Linked DNA regions of Homo sapiens: region 1 is linked to region 2. The links are contacts of gene promoters, found by promoter capture Hi-C in human tissues and cell types (Jung and others, 2019). All regions are on one chromosome and are shown on one strand. Each heading gives the region's core, a stretch centred on a gene start or on the middle of the fragment in contact. The rest is flanking DNA. Distances are from core to core; before and after follow the strand shown.

Region 1 (6,141 bases), core at 813-3,312, 310 kb before region 2:
CCTTCAGATGAGAGTAAATTAAGGATCTTGCTGTGGGGAGATTATCCTGGATTGTCTGAGTGGATTCTAAATGTACTCACAAGGGTCCTTTTATAAGATTGTGGTGGGAGGGTCAGAGACATGGGAGAGGATGTGATGACAGAAGCAGAGGTTGGAGTGATGAGCTTTGCAGATGGAGGAAGGAGCTGCGAGCCAAGGAATTGGGGCAGCTTCTAGAAGATGGAAAGGGCAAGGATATGGTGGATTCCTTAGAGCTTCTGGAGGGAGCACAACCCGGCCAATAACTCCATTTTAGCCCAGTGAAAGCCGTTTTGGACTTCTGACTTCCAGAACGGAAAGATCATAAATTTGTGTTACCTTAAGTTACTAAATGTGTGGTAATTTGTTACAATAGCAGAAAGAAACTAATATAGCCTCCTTTGGTTGTTAGAGGATTGATACTTAAGCAGTGATAATAGGCAGTTCCTGTGTATTAAACTTGCCAGGAGTTTGGCTGGATTCTGAGTCTCGACTTTAGTCATCAGAAAAGCTCTCTAAGGATAGCAGCAGGGCCATTGTTCACATACAGATTAGCAGACTGTAACTCCTGTGTCTGTTTTTTCACACTATGCTGTCTTCCTAGTCCATCTATCATTGCTCTAAAAATATTCTGTGGTGGATAGAAGTGTAACTTTAGGGGTATCCATAAACTCTGGTGATGTTTGCCCTTTGGGTTGGTGGATCTTGTGTGATTGACTGGATTCTGTGACATAGGAAACAAAGCATTTTGTCATAGATAACATCCTGGCTTGAAGCCTCGCTTGGTGATACTCTCTAAACACCCCTCTCCTCCTTTTTTCTGCACTTGTCAAGATATGGGAGTAGAAGGACATTATAACACAGAAGTGAGAGCACTCATGATGTAAATATTACTTGCTAAAGGCCTTGTGTGCTCATCTACCTAACTTTTGTTAAGATGAAAGGCTTTATTCTTTTTTTTTCTTTTTTAACCTTAATAACATTCACTGGGTCCTTTTGTCAGGGGTCTTCAAGACCACCTCCAGGTTCACTGATTCACTATGAGTACTTATAGGACTCAAAAGTCATTATACTCAGGATTATGGTGTATTACAGTGAAAGGATACAAAGCAACATCAGCAAAGGAAAAAGGTGCATGAGGTTAGACCAGGTGCAAGCTTCCAGTAGCGTACATGGGGCACACTTAATTCCTCAAGCAAGGAGTTGTGACAACACGTGCGAAATTTCTACTAGGAAACTTGCCTGAGTCTAGGAGTCCAGTGTGTTTATTGAGAGGTTGCTCATCCAGGCACACAGTGCCTGCGTGACTCACTGCCATCGCTGAAACTCCAGACCACCCTGAGGGAAAGCAGGTGATCACTATGAATGACATTGTTTGCACACATATCTAAATAAGTTAAAAGTAAATGTGCTTCAATACCTTGAGCATGCAAAACACTCTTACTAGTTAGAACATTCCAAGATCTTAATTCCTAGGAGTTGGCTAAGGGCCAGTTAGGAAACAGGCTACCTTTGCAAGGTTTGAGCACGTCAGGCCTGCAGAGTTAACTCTTTCTTGCACATTTTTTTTTTTTTTTTTTTTGAGACGGTGTATCGCTCTGTCGCTCAGGCTGAAGTGCAGTGGCGCGATCTTGGCTCACTGCAAGCTCTGCCTCCCGGGTTCATGCCATTCTCCTGCCTCAGCCTCCTGAGCAGCTGGGACTACAGGCACCCGCCACCACACCTGGCTAATTTTTTGTATTTTTAGTAGAGACAGGGTTTCACTGTGTTAGCCAGGATGGTCTTGATCTCCTGACCTCATGATCCGCCCGCCTCGGCCTCCCAAAGTGCTGGGATTACAGGCGTAGCCACCTCGTCCGGCCTCTTTCTTGCACATTCTTATACTGGTCTTCCTTTTCATGGAAAGTACTTTTAAATGGTTTCATTAGTTTTCAGTACACACTTTGTATTCTGGTTAACTGTTGTTTACTTTTCACTATTCTTTTCCCTATTATGATCTTTCTCTGAGTTCTAAGCCTGGACTTGAAAACAAATTTATACTAGTGTTTTTGATAATATGGACAGTAAATCTCACCATTCCCACTTTATTCTAATGTCTTTCTCTATGCTCTCATAGCTTTTTTTCTGTCTGTTTCAGAATGGGTGAGAAATCTTGAAAGCAAAGCATTGATCCCAGCACAGAGCATTTTTGAGGAAGAACAATCCCATGGCATGAAGTTGGAAAGATATATATGGGATGATCCTTGGTTCTCCAGGTTAGAAGTTTTGGGATGTAAAGACCAATTAGAAATGTACCACATGAACCAGAGTACAGCTATGAGGCAGATGGTCTTCATGCAAAAGCAAGTACTATCCCAGAGAAGCTCTGAATTCTGTGGACTTGGGGCAGAGTTTAGCCAGAACTTAAACTTTGTTCCATCTCAGAGAGTTTCTCAGATAGAACATTTCTATAAGCCTGATACACATGCTCAAAGTTGGAGATGTGACTCAGCCATAATGTATGCAGATAAGGTTACCTGTGAAAATAATGATTATGACAAAACTGTTTATCAGTCCATTCAACCTATTTACCCTGCAAGAATACAAACTGGAGATAATCTTTTCAAATGTACTGATGCTGTTAAATCTTTCAATCATATAATACATTTTGGTGATCATAAAGGAATTCACACAGGAGAAAAACTCTATGAATATAAGGAATGCCATCAAATCTTTAACCAGAGCCCATCATTTAATGAACACCCAAGGCTTCATGTTGGAGAAAACCAGTATAATTACAAAGAATATGAGAATATCTTTTATTTCTCATCCTTTATGGAACATCAAAAAATTGGTACTGTAGAGAAAGCGTATAAATACAATGAATGGGAGAAAGTCTTTGGGTATGACTCTTTCCTTACTCAACATACAAGCACTTACACTGCAGAGAAACCCTATGACTACAATGAATGTGGGACGTCTTTCATCTGGAGCTCTTACCTTATTCAACATAAGAAAACTCATACTGGAGAAAAACCCTATGAATGTGATAAATGTGGAAAAGTTTTTAGGAATCGCTCAGCCCTTACGAAACATGAACGGACTCACACTGGAATAAAACCCTATGAATGTAATAAATGTGGAAAAGCCTTCAGCTGGAATTCTCATCTTATTGTACATAAGAGAATTCATACAGGAGAAAAACCTTATGTTTGTAATGAGTGTGGGAAATCTTTCAACTGGAACTCTCATCTTATTGGACATCAGAGGACTCATACAGGAGAGAAACCTTTTGAATGTACTGAATGTGGGAAATCATTCAGCTGGAGCTCCCATCTTATTGCCCATATGAGAATGCATACTGGAGAGAAACCCTTTAAATGTGATGAATGTGAAAAAGCTTTTAGGGACTACTCAGCCCTTAGTAAACATGAAAGAACTCATTCTGGAGCAAAACCATATAAATGTACTGAATGTGGAAAATCCTTCAGCTGGAGCTCCCATCTTATTGCCCATCAGAGAACTCACACGGGAGAGAAACCATATAACTGTCAGGAATGTGGCAAAGCATTCAGAGAACGCTCAGCCCTCACTAAACATGAGATAATTCATTCTGGAATTAAGCCCTATGAATGTAATAAATGTGGAAAATCCTGTAGCCAGATGGCTCACCTTGTTAGACATCAAAGGACTCATACTGGAGAAAAACCCTATGAATGCAATAAATGTGGAAAATCCTTCAGTCAGAGCTGTCACCTTGTTGCTCATCGGAGAATTCACACTGGTGAGAAACCCTATAAATGTAATCAGTGTGAAAGATCCTTTAACTGTAGTTCTCACCTCATTGCACACCGGAGAACTCATACTGGAGAGAAACCATACAGGTGTAATGAATGTGGGAAAGCATTTAATGAGAGTTCATCCCTTATTGTACACCTAAGAAACCATACTGGAGAAAAGCCCTACAAATGTAATCATTGTGAAAAAGCATTTTGTAAGAATTCTTCCCTTATTATTCATCAGAGAATGCATAGTGGAGAGAAACGCTTTATATGCAGTGAATGTGGAAAAGCCTTTAGTGGTCACTCAGCCCTACTTCAACACCAGAGAAATCACAGTGAAGAGAAACTGAATTGAATTTATGCGAGTTTTTCGTTTCTTGTACATTTGACAACACATTGAGGAAAACCCTATAAACATAATCAAGAGGGGACATTTTTCATTAAGAGTTCAGTAAGACTTCTCCCACATTATTTACTAGAAAATATCATCTTAGAAGAAACCCCATGAAGGAAAAGAATAGGGAAAAGCTTTCAGCAGTTATTTAGCCCTTACTCAAAATCAGATAATTAACAATGAAGGAAACTCTAAACTCCCCTTATGGTCTACCAGTAATTCATACTTGAGGACCATGACTGTGGGGAATGAGGCATCTTTTAGCAAGAGCTCTCACCAATTGTAGATTGGTGTGAATTGCTAAGGGAAAAACCTTATGCAGAGAAAAGTTTTTGACTGGAAATACACTGTTTTGCATCAAGCTGGAGTACTGGATGGAAAACTCTACAATAACATTTTGTGCATAATTGTAGAAATACAGATTTTGTTGTTATAAGGGGAGGGTCTGGGTGCCCAGGAGTAGAATATGAAGTGCTAAATCTGAATGTAAGAAAAATAATAGTATTGAATGGGGTATTTACTGTTGATTAACCTCCTTAGAGAAAATTAATGAATGAGATGACTAACGGTAGAAAAGTTATTGCCTAGGAGTGTGAGACTGATGTTGCTGGACAGAAAGTGATCCTTAGCCCAGTGTGTCAGCGTCCATTGTTACTCATCACTGCATTGTTGGGCAATTAGTTTGTAATTTGTTTTAGGCAATCACTATAAATTATAATTATGGACACTGCATCAGTATACATAACATGAAGGAATAAAAAGGATACAGAATTGTATATACATACTTACTGTAACACATCTAAAAAAATGTATATGGGTAAGGACCTGAAAGATCCATGGAAAAGTTAACCCAGTTGAGATTTTTAAAAAGTTTTACAAATACATATAACACTTATGTGCTGGGCTTTCTTTTAAATGCTTTCCAAGTGTTAACTTGTTTAGTCCCCTTTACTCTGAGATAGGTACTGTTACCCCAGTTTTACAAATGGCTAAGCTGAAGCAGAGATGTTGAAGGATCCTACCTAAGGGGCACAACTAGTAAGGGAGTAGAGCTGAGATTGGCTCCAGAGTTCTTGTTTTCAGCCACCATTTTATGCTGCCTCTCCAGTGATTTTTTTTCCCATTTTCTTCAGTGTTTCTATAGCAGAGATTTGATAATAAAAAGAAAATCCTAAACAATGAGAAATAAAGTTACCTGGTTTCTCTGTCTCGAAGGATTTATAGTAACATGAGAACTAGTATCCCTTTGGAATATGAAGTCTGTGTTGGACATTCAGAATCACTGCATTTTCTGGGACCTGAGTTCCCTAGAACTTTGCTGCCTGCAACCCCAAGGATAACAGGGCAGCAGGGCCTGGAGGACTTGCTGGAGGACTGGGCAAGTCCCTTGGTGGGTTTAGAATGCCACTTACAGAGCAGAGGGCAGGGGTGTTTGTTCCTTTCCATAACTAGACACCACTGCACTTCAGAGCACCATTACCCAAGGTTTACCTTGAATTCGGTCTTTTATTTTTTTGAAATCTTCTGCAGATGAAAGGCTTACTTGAAGGAGCAGGATTCAGAAGGGAAGAGAGCTAGCCAGTCCACCTAGAGTAATGAAGTCTCAGTGTTCACAGGGGAAAAGGGGAAAGATGGATCAGAAGACTTGGGTGGCTTCTCTCCAGTTCATAAGTATTTCTAAAACTGGGGGCCAAGGATCCTTCCTGGATAGGCTTCAAGGGTATTGAGTGGAACTTGGGCTCATAAAGCTCATCTAATTTTTAAAGGGCCCATGGCTTCCCAGTGGTTGAGAAATGATGGCCTAGTGATGTCATTGGGAGGCTGTTATTTTCACCTTCTGACTCTTCTAGCTTGGGCTCACTTAGGTGTGTAACATTTGATTGTAGTCCTTTCAAGGCCTGACACATTAGTGGTCACCTGATAAATGTGGCAGGGGCAAGTTAGTTATTGATGGATTTTTTTTTTACA
Region 2 (6,379 bases), core at 843-3,342:
AACCTGGTGTGGTGGTGTGCGCCTGTGGTCCCAGCTGCTCAGGAAGCTAAGGTGGAAGGATCACTTGAGCCTGGGGAGGCTGAAGCTGCAGTGAGCTGTGATTGGGGCTACTAAACTTTAGCCTGGGTGATAGAGATCTTGTCTCGAAAAAAAAAAAAGAATTACTAGAACATAAAGTCATACGATAGACTTTTTGAAGAAAAATCTTCAGTCACACCAGGCCTTTATACAGAGTTCACAACATCAAGCCCTTTTGGGTCAGAGCTGTTGTAACAAAAGACCATTCCCTACACCTGGGAGACCCCCATATCTCTGTAGTTAGGAATTTTCCTGAAATAGCTATGCCTACATACACATGTATACACACTCAAAGACACAAAATTATGTATACACACTCAAAGACACAAAATGTATACACACTCAAAGGCACAAAATTTTCCTTCCATTATGGAAGCTTACCTCCTTGGTTGACTGGGTAATCCCGGGCCGAACACTGAGCTGATGTGTGACTAGCTTTCCACACTGGGTTTATCTGATGTGCCTCCTAAGGCTGCTCCCTTTTATAGGGGCTGGGATCAGTGATTGATTTAAAGACGTGATTGGATAACACTTGTCTGTTGATTGAATTACTGATGGAATCTTCATCCAGCCCCAGCTCCATGTCAGTGATTGATTTAAAGACGTGATTGGATAACACTTGTCTGTTGATTGAATTACTGATGGAATCTTCATCCAGCCCCAGCTCCATGTCTCTAATACAGTGTTCTATACCATCACTGGTCCTGGGTCAACAGGTCATAAACAAACACATTAATATTTCTGCAGGCTAGGTGCAGTGGCTCACACCTGTAATCTCAGCACTTTGGGAGGCTGAGGCAGGCAGATCACCTGAGATCAGGAGTTCAAGACCAGCCTGGCCAACATGGTGAAACCCTTTCTCTACTAAAAATACAAAAATTAGCCGGGCATGGTGGTGGGCACCTGTAATCCCAGCTACTTGGGAGGCTGAGGCAGGAGAATTACTTGAACCTGGGAGGCAGAGGCTAGAGTGAGCCAAGATTGCGCCACTGCATTCCAGCCTGGGAGACAGAGCAAGACTCTGTGAATCCCTAGCCTGAGCAACAAAGCAAGACCCTGTCTCTACCAAAAATAATGTTAAAAATGTTAGCCAGGCATGGTGGCATGTCTGTGTAGCTTGTTTGAGCCAGGGAGTTCATGGCTACAGTGGATTATGACCGCCCTACTGAACTCTGGCCTGGGAAATGGAAGGAGACCAAGTCTCTAAAAAAAAAACAAAACAAAACGAACAAAAAAAAAACCATGCCTGTAATCCCAGCACTTTTGGAGGCCGAGGTGGGCGGATCACGAGGTCAAGAGTTCGAGACCAGCCTGGCCAATATGGTGAAACCCCATCTCTACTAAAAATGCAAAAATTAGCCAGGCGTAGTGGCGCGTGCCTGTAGTCCCAGCTATTCAGGAGGCTGAGCAGAAGAATTGTTTGAACCACAGAGGCGGAGGTTGCAGTGAGCTGAAATTGTGCCACTGCACTGCAGCCTGGGCGACAGAGGTAGACTGTCTCAAAAACCAACAAACAAACAAACACACACAAAAATACAAAATCTGCGGTAAAATGTAACAAGGTCCACATTAAATGAAAATATAAAGACAGGCTGGGTGTGGTGGCTCGCGCCTGTAATCCCAGCACTTTGGGAGGCCGAGGCAGGTGGATCATGAGGTCAGGAGTTTGAGACCAGCCTGACCAACATGGTTAAACCCGGTTTCTATTAAAAATACAAAAATTATCTGGGCGTGGTAGCATGCACCTGTAATCCCAGCTACTCAGGAGGCTGAGGCAGAAGAATTGTTTGAATCCAGGAGGCAGAGGTTGCAGTGAGCCGAGATTACGCCACGGCACTCCAGCCTGGACGACAGAGCGAGACTGTGTCTCAAAAAAAAAAAAAAAAAAAAGGAAAATATAAAGACAAACGTTAGTCTCACAAATTCTGATCAAGTTTTATTATAAATTACTCATAGAAACATGACAAACTTTTGCTCAAACTTTTAAGTTTTCAGAGATTTATGAATTACAAGGGTGGCAGAGGGCAAGGCTAATGCTGTGACTCCTGTGCCAATTCCAGGCTGGTGAAACAGAGGGGGCCCGGGACCCAGAGAAGGCATTCCTAATCCATCAAAAAGATGACAGGGGTTGAGACTAGGATTATATCAGTGGAAAGGGAGAAATTGGTGCATATTTTATATTGAGAAAGCATATGATGTTTGATAGACTTAACATGAGGCTTGAGAGAGATGGAGGAGTTAAAATGGTGAGAAGCGCCTGGTCACCTAGTGTGGTGGAAGCTGTGCCTTCTTCCCTGCACTCTCCCTCCCCACTTTCCACCCTCATACAGGCTGAGGCTTTGGTGGAGTTGAGAACGTATCGAAGGGGTGGGAGCTAATTACAGCCATGTGTTTCATCTGCTCCATCAGGCATGCAGCCTCTTGGGGCTTAGATTGTCCCCCTATCACTGTTGGGTACAGAGTTTGAATCTCCTGGTACTCCACTGATGAAATGTCTGCTTGACTTCCCCACATTAGGAATTATGTTCTGAATCCTCACATTATAAGACTGTGTACTAGTCCATTTCTCCAAGGAGTTTCATCCACATATACTCCATACAGAGAAGTATCCCTGCTCCCATCAAGAGCCAATTTTCCACTGGTGGTTTAGGTCCTGTCACCAACTATGTCATTAAACCAACTGTGACAGGAAAATTGGCTCTTGATGGAAGCAGGGATACTTCTCTGCTACAACAATGAAAAATGGGCTGGGCGCAGTGGCTCATGCCTGTAATCCCAGCACTTTGGGAGGCCGAGGCGGGTGGATCACCTGAGGTCAGGAGTTTGAGACCAGCCTGGCCAACATGATGAAACCTCGTCTCTACTAAAAAAATACAAAAATTAGCCAGGCATGGTGGCAGGCACCTGTAATCCCAAGTACTCGGGAGCCTGAGGCAGGAGAATCACTTGAACCTGGGAGGCCGAGGTTGCAGTGAGCCAAGATCGCACCACTGCTCTCCAGCCTGGGCGACAGAGTGAGACTCTGTCTCAAAAACAAACAAACAAACAAACAAAAAACAAACAAAAAAAAAACAATGAAAAATGTAGACAATGTGAGTACCACTGGAGGCCAGTTGTTAATTTGTGGTGGGTTGAAAGCATTTCCTGTCTGCTTCTGCAGTCTCAAGGAGTTCCTTGAGCTCTGTAAGGAGCTGTAAGGAAAAGGTTTGGGGAAAAGCTGGCAATTTCTGTTTGGAGGAGGTTATTGGATTTTTGAGTTCAGATATACAGCCAGCTGTTGGACATGCTGGTGTGTAACTCTGGGAGCAGTTAGACCTGAGGCACGATGATATCAGTAAGAGTAGTAATAGCATCAGGGATCATAATAACTAACCTTTAAGCAGTCAGGGCATATTTGACTCTGTTCTCAGTGCTTTCTGTATGTTAACCCATTTCCATCACAACAGTCCTGTAAAGTAGATCCTAAATAACTCCATTTTAACATCAAAATAACAGAGGCACAGAGAAGTTCAGTACCTTGGCCAGTGCTACATAGCCTGTAAGTGGCTGGGCTAGGATTTGATACCTGGCTCCAGAGTGGGACTCTGAATGCTACATTAAGAAGGCAAAGACACACAGCCACTGTGTAAAACCAGCAGCTTTCTAGGGAATGGGCTAATGGAGGAGTGAAGGGCATGAGCAGGAGGATTTATCCTTGGGGAAACACAGATGGTGGAGGAAATGACCTGGTGATACCCCAACTTAGGCATAGAATAAACAGGCACAAAACAATAAAAATAAATGTGAAATCCACATAGTAATTTAATCAAATAAGGATATTACAAAGACAACTATCAAATGCTTTTCTGATCAATTGGGAAGGCAGGTAGTGCTGCCTTTGGTAAAAATAGATGACCCGTTTACATCCAGCATCATCTCAACTTGTGTCTGGTGAGTATCCCCGCTCCAGTGTGAGTGAGGAAAATAACCTTTGTTTCCAAGAAGACAAAGCCAATCCGCCTCAGTATGTAGGAAACAGTGATTTCAATTAGAATAATAATAATAATAATAAAAACCTGGTAGGAAAATAAACAAAACTGTTAACTTTCTATTTTTTTCGAGACAAAGTCTTGCTCTGTCGCCCAGGCTGGAGTGCAGTGGCACGATCTTGGCTCACTGCAACTTCCGCACCCAGAGTAGCTGTGATTAAAGGCATGCGCCACCACACCCGGCTAATTTTTGTATTTTAGTAGAGACGGGGTTTCACCATGTTGGCCAGGATAGTCTCAAACTCCTGATCTCAGGTGATCCGCCCACCTCAGCCTCCCCAGGTGCTGGGATTACAGGCGTGAGCCACCACACCTGGTGACTTTCTTTTCTTTTTTTTTTTTTTTTGAGAAAAAATATTTAGTCAATTTATTTATTATTTATTGATTTTTGGTTGTTGCACCTACTTTAATAACAACTTCAAAAAAGGAACAACATTCATCCGGTTCTAAATGTCTTTATGAACGCAAAGACTGGGGTCCCCTGCCAGCTTCCGAGGCAGCCCTGCACCTCCCGTAGGTGGCCGCACTTGGACCGCACCACTCCATTAGCTAAAAGCTACAACAGTCGTAAAGAGAAGGAAAGAACTGGAGAGCCAGCACGCGAAGCTTATCCAATGCTTCCAGTCATACAAGCAAGCTGCAGGATCTCATGGAGGTGCGTGGATCACCCCGTGGAAATTCTCCAGGGCGCATCGAAGCTTAGCATGTTTAGTGGAGACTTGGACAAAGCCCCGAGTCTGTACAGGACCTGTAGGAACCATGGCAGGCATCGGCTGCTTCATAAGGATCTGATATGGTTCCTTTTTAAAAAGCGCATTCTTCAAAAGGCAAACTACCCAATTTCCTTTTAAATATGAATACAATACAACTTATAATACATACACTTGTCAAAATTGTGTGCAAAGAACTGCCAAAGTGACTTTCTCAAATTAAAAAATTGTCCTAAGATGATTTTCTGTAAACCTACTTGGGCCTCGCAAAGATATTTTAAGTATCAGTATTATTATTGAGACGGAGTTTCACTCTTGTTGCCCAGGCTGGAGTGCAGTGGCACGATCTCGGTTTACCACAACCTCCACCTCCCGGGTTCAAGCAATTCTCCTGCCTCAGCCTCCGGAGTAGCTGGGATTACTGACGTGGGCTGCCCAGCTTATTTTGTATTTTTAGTAGAGATGGGGTTTCTCCATTTTGGTCAGGCTGGTCTCGAACTCCTGATCTGGTGATCCACCCGCCTCAGCCTCCCAAAGTGTTGGGATTACAGGAGTGAGCCACCGCGCCCGGCCTTGGATTAATTTTAGAAAAAGGGTGACTTTAGGTCAAACACACATTTACAAAAGAACAATGATTCACCCAGGAGCTGACAGGTGCAGACTGATGTCAGTGAACTTGTCTGCTGGCTGCTTTTGTATGAGCTTTAAAAAAAAAAGTATTAAAATTTAAAATACAAAATTTGACACCAAGTGTAAACATATTTGTGTCTGCAGACACTGGAGATACCAGGTGCCTCCCTGTATTTAGCAGCCTACACAAATGGTAAGGGGTGTGCTGCGGGATTTAGCCTGCTGGAGTGGCTGGGATGGGAAGAACCGCCAGAAGCCAAGTAGATACACTCCAGGAAAAGTATCAGAACTGAAGTTACAGAAAATGGAATCCTAGCAGCACAGTGGCAGCTAGATTCTTTTTGCTTTTGTCTGTAGCTTGCATTAGCAGAGTGCAATATGCAATTACTATCCACTTTACTATTCTAATCGTGCAGAGATCCCAAAAGGTAAAAGACCCCTATGCTTCCAGCCAGCAGCGGCTTTGCATGAGGACTGCCAGGCTCTCAGACCCCACATCCCTTGGCCTTCTTAGTGGGGAGAGCTCCCAGAATGCCGCTGGCTAAAAGCCTATTTTGCCCCTGGTCAGTCATGGAATAGCCCAGTTTAGCCTCATTGTTAATGAAGGACATCAATCCCAGGCCGGTCTCCATGAGGAGGGGGCGCTCCACGACCAGCACGCGTGCGCTTGTCCTGGAAAAGGACTTTCCTTTTTGGCGTTTTTGACCTTGGATTCACAGAGCCTTGAAGCTTTTCATCTGGCAGAGTTGCTGTGTTCTCATCCGCAGCAGCCATAGCGTGTTGTATGAAATTGGCACAGGGTACGTTTGTGGACCAGGGATTCCATCTGTTTAAGAAGGAAAGGCGACTTCGCTTGCCCCACTGAATTCGAATCCCAAAACCTTCTCGCTTGTTGAGCGATTTAGGGGGAAATTGGAATTCTCCGCAGGAGAC

Evidence for each region. The method cuts DNA at HindIII sites, captures the fragments that hold promoters and counts their contacts. A contact is called where the count stands out against the background at its distance.
Region 1: a contact is called between a fragment that was not itself captured here and the fragment with the promoter of ZSCAN4 in region 2, in 1 of the 25 tissues and cell types used here (pancreas).

What each region holds. Positions count from the first base shown.
Region 1 is chr19:57,976,294-57,982,434 of GRCh38, reverse strand. It overlaps ZNF606 (zinc finger protein 606), which reads left to right. Exons shown (of 7, transcript NM_001348022.3): 7 at 2,156-5,359. The coding sequence ends at 4,134. Among named protein-coding and RNA genes, the nearest start is that of C19orf18, 4.8 kb to the right of the region's middle. The HindIII fragment of the contact is 3,581 bases long and covers 272-3,852 here.
Region 2 is chr19:57,664,648-57,671,026 of GRCh38, reverse strand. ZSCAN4 (zinc finger and SCAN domain containing 4) reads right to left here and starts at 2,092. Exons shown (of 5, transcript NM_152677.4): 1 at 1,824-2,092; 2 at 460-782. It also overlaps the pseudogene TPRG1LP1. The HindIII fragment of the contact is 8,369 bases long and covers 1-5,490 here.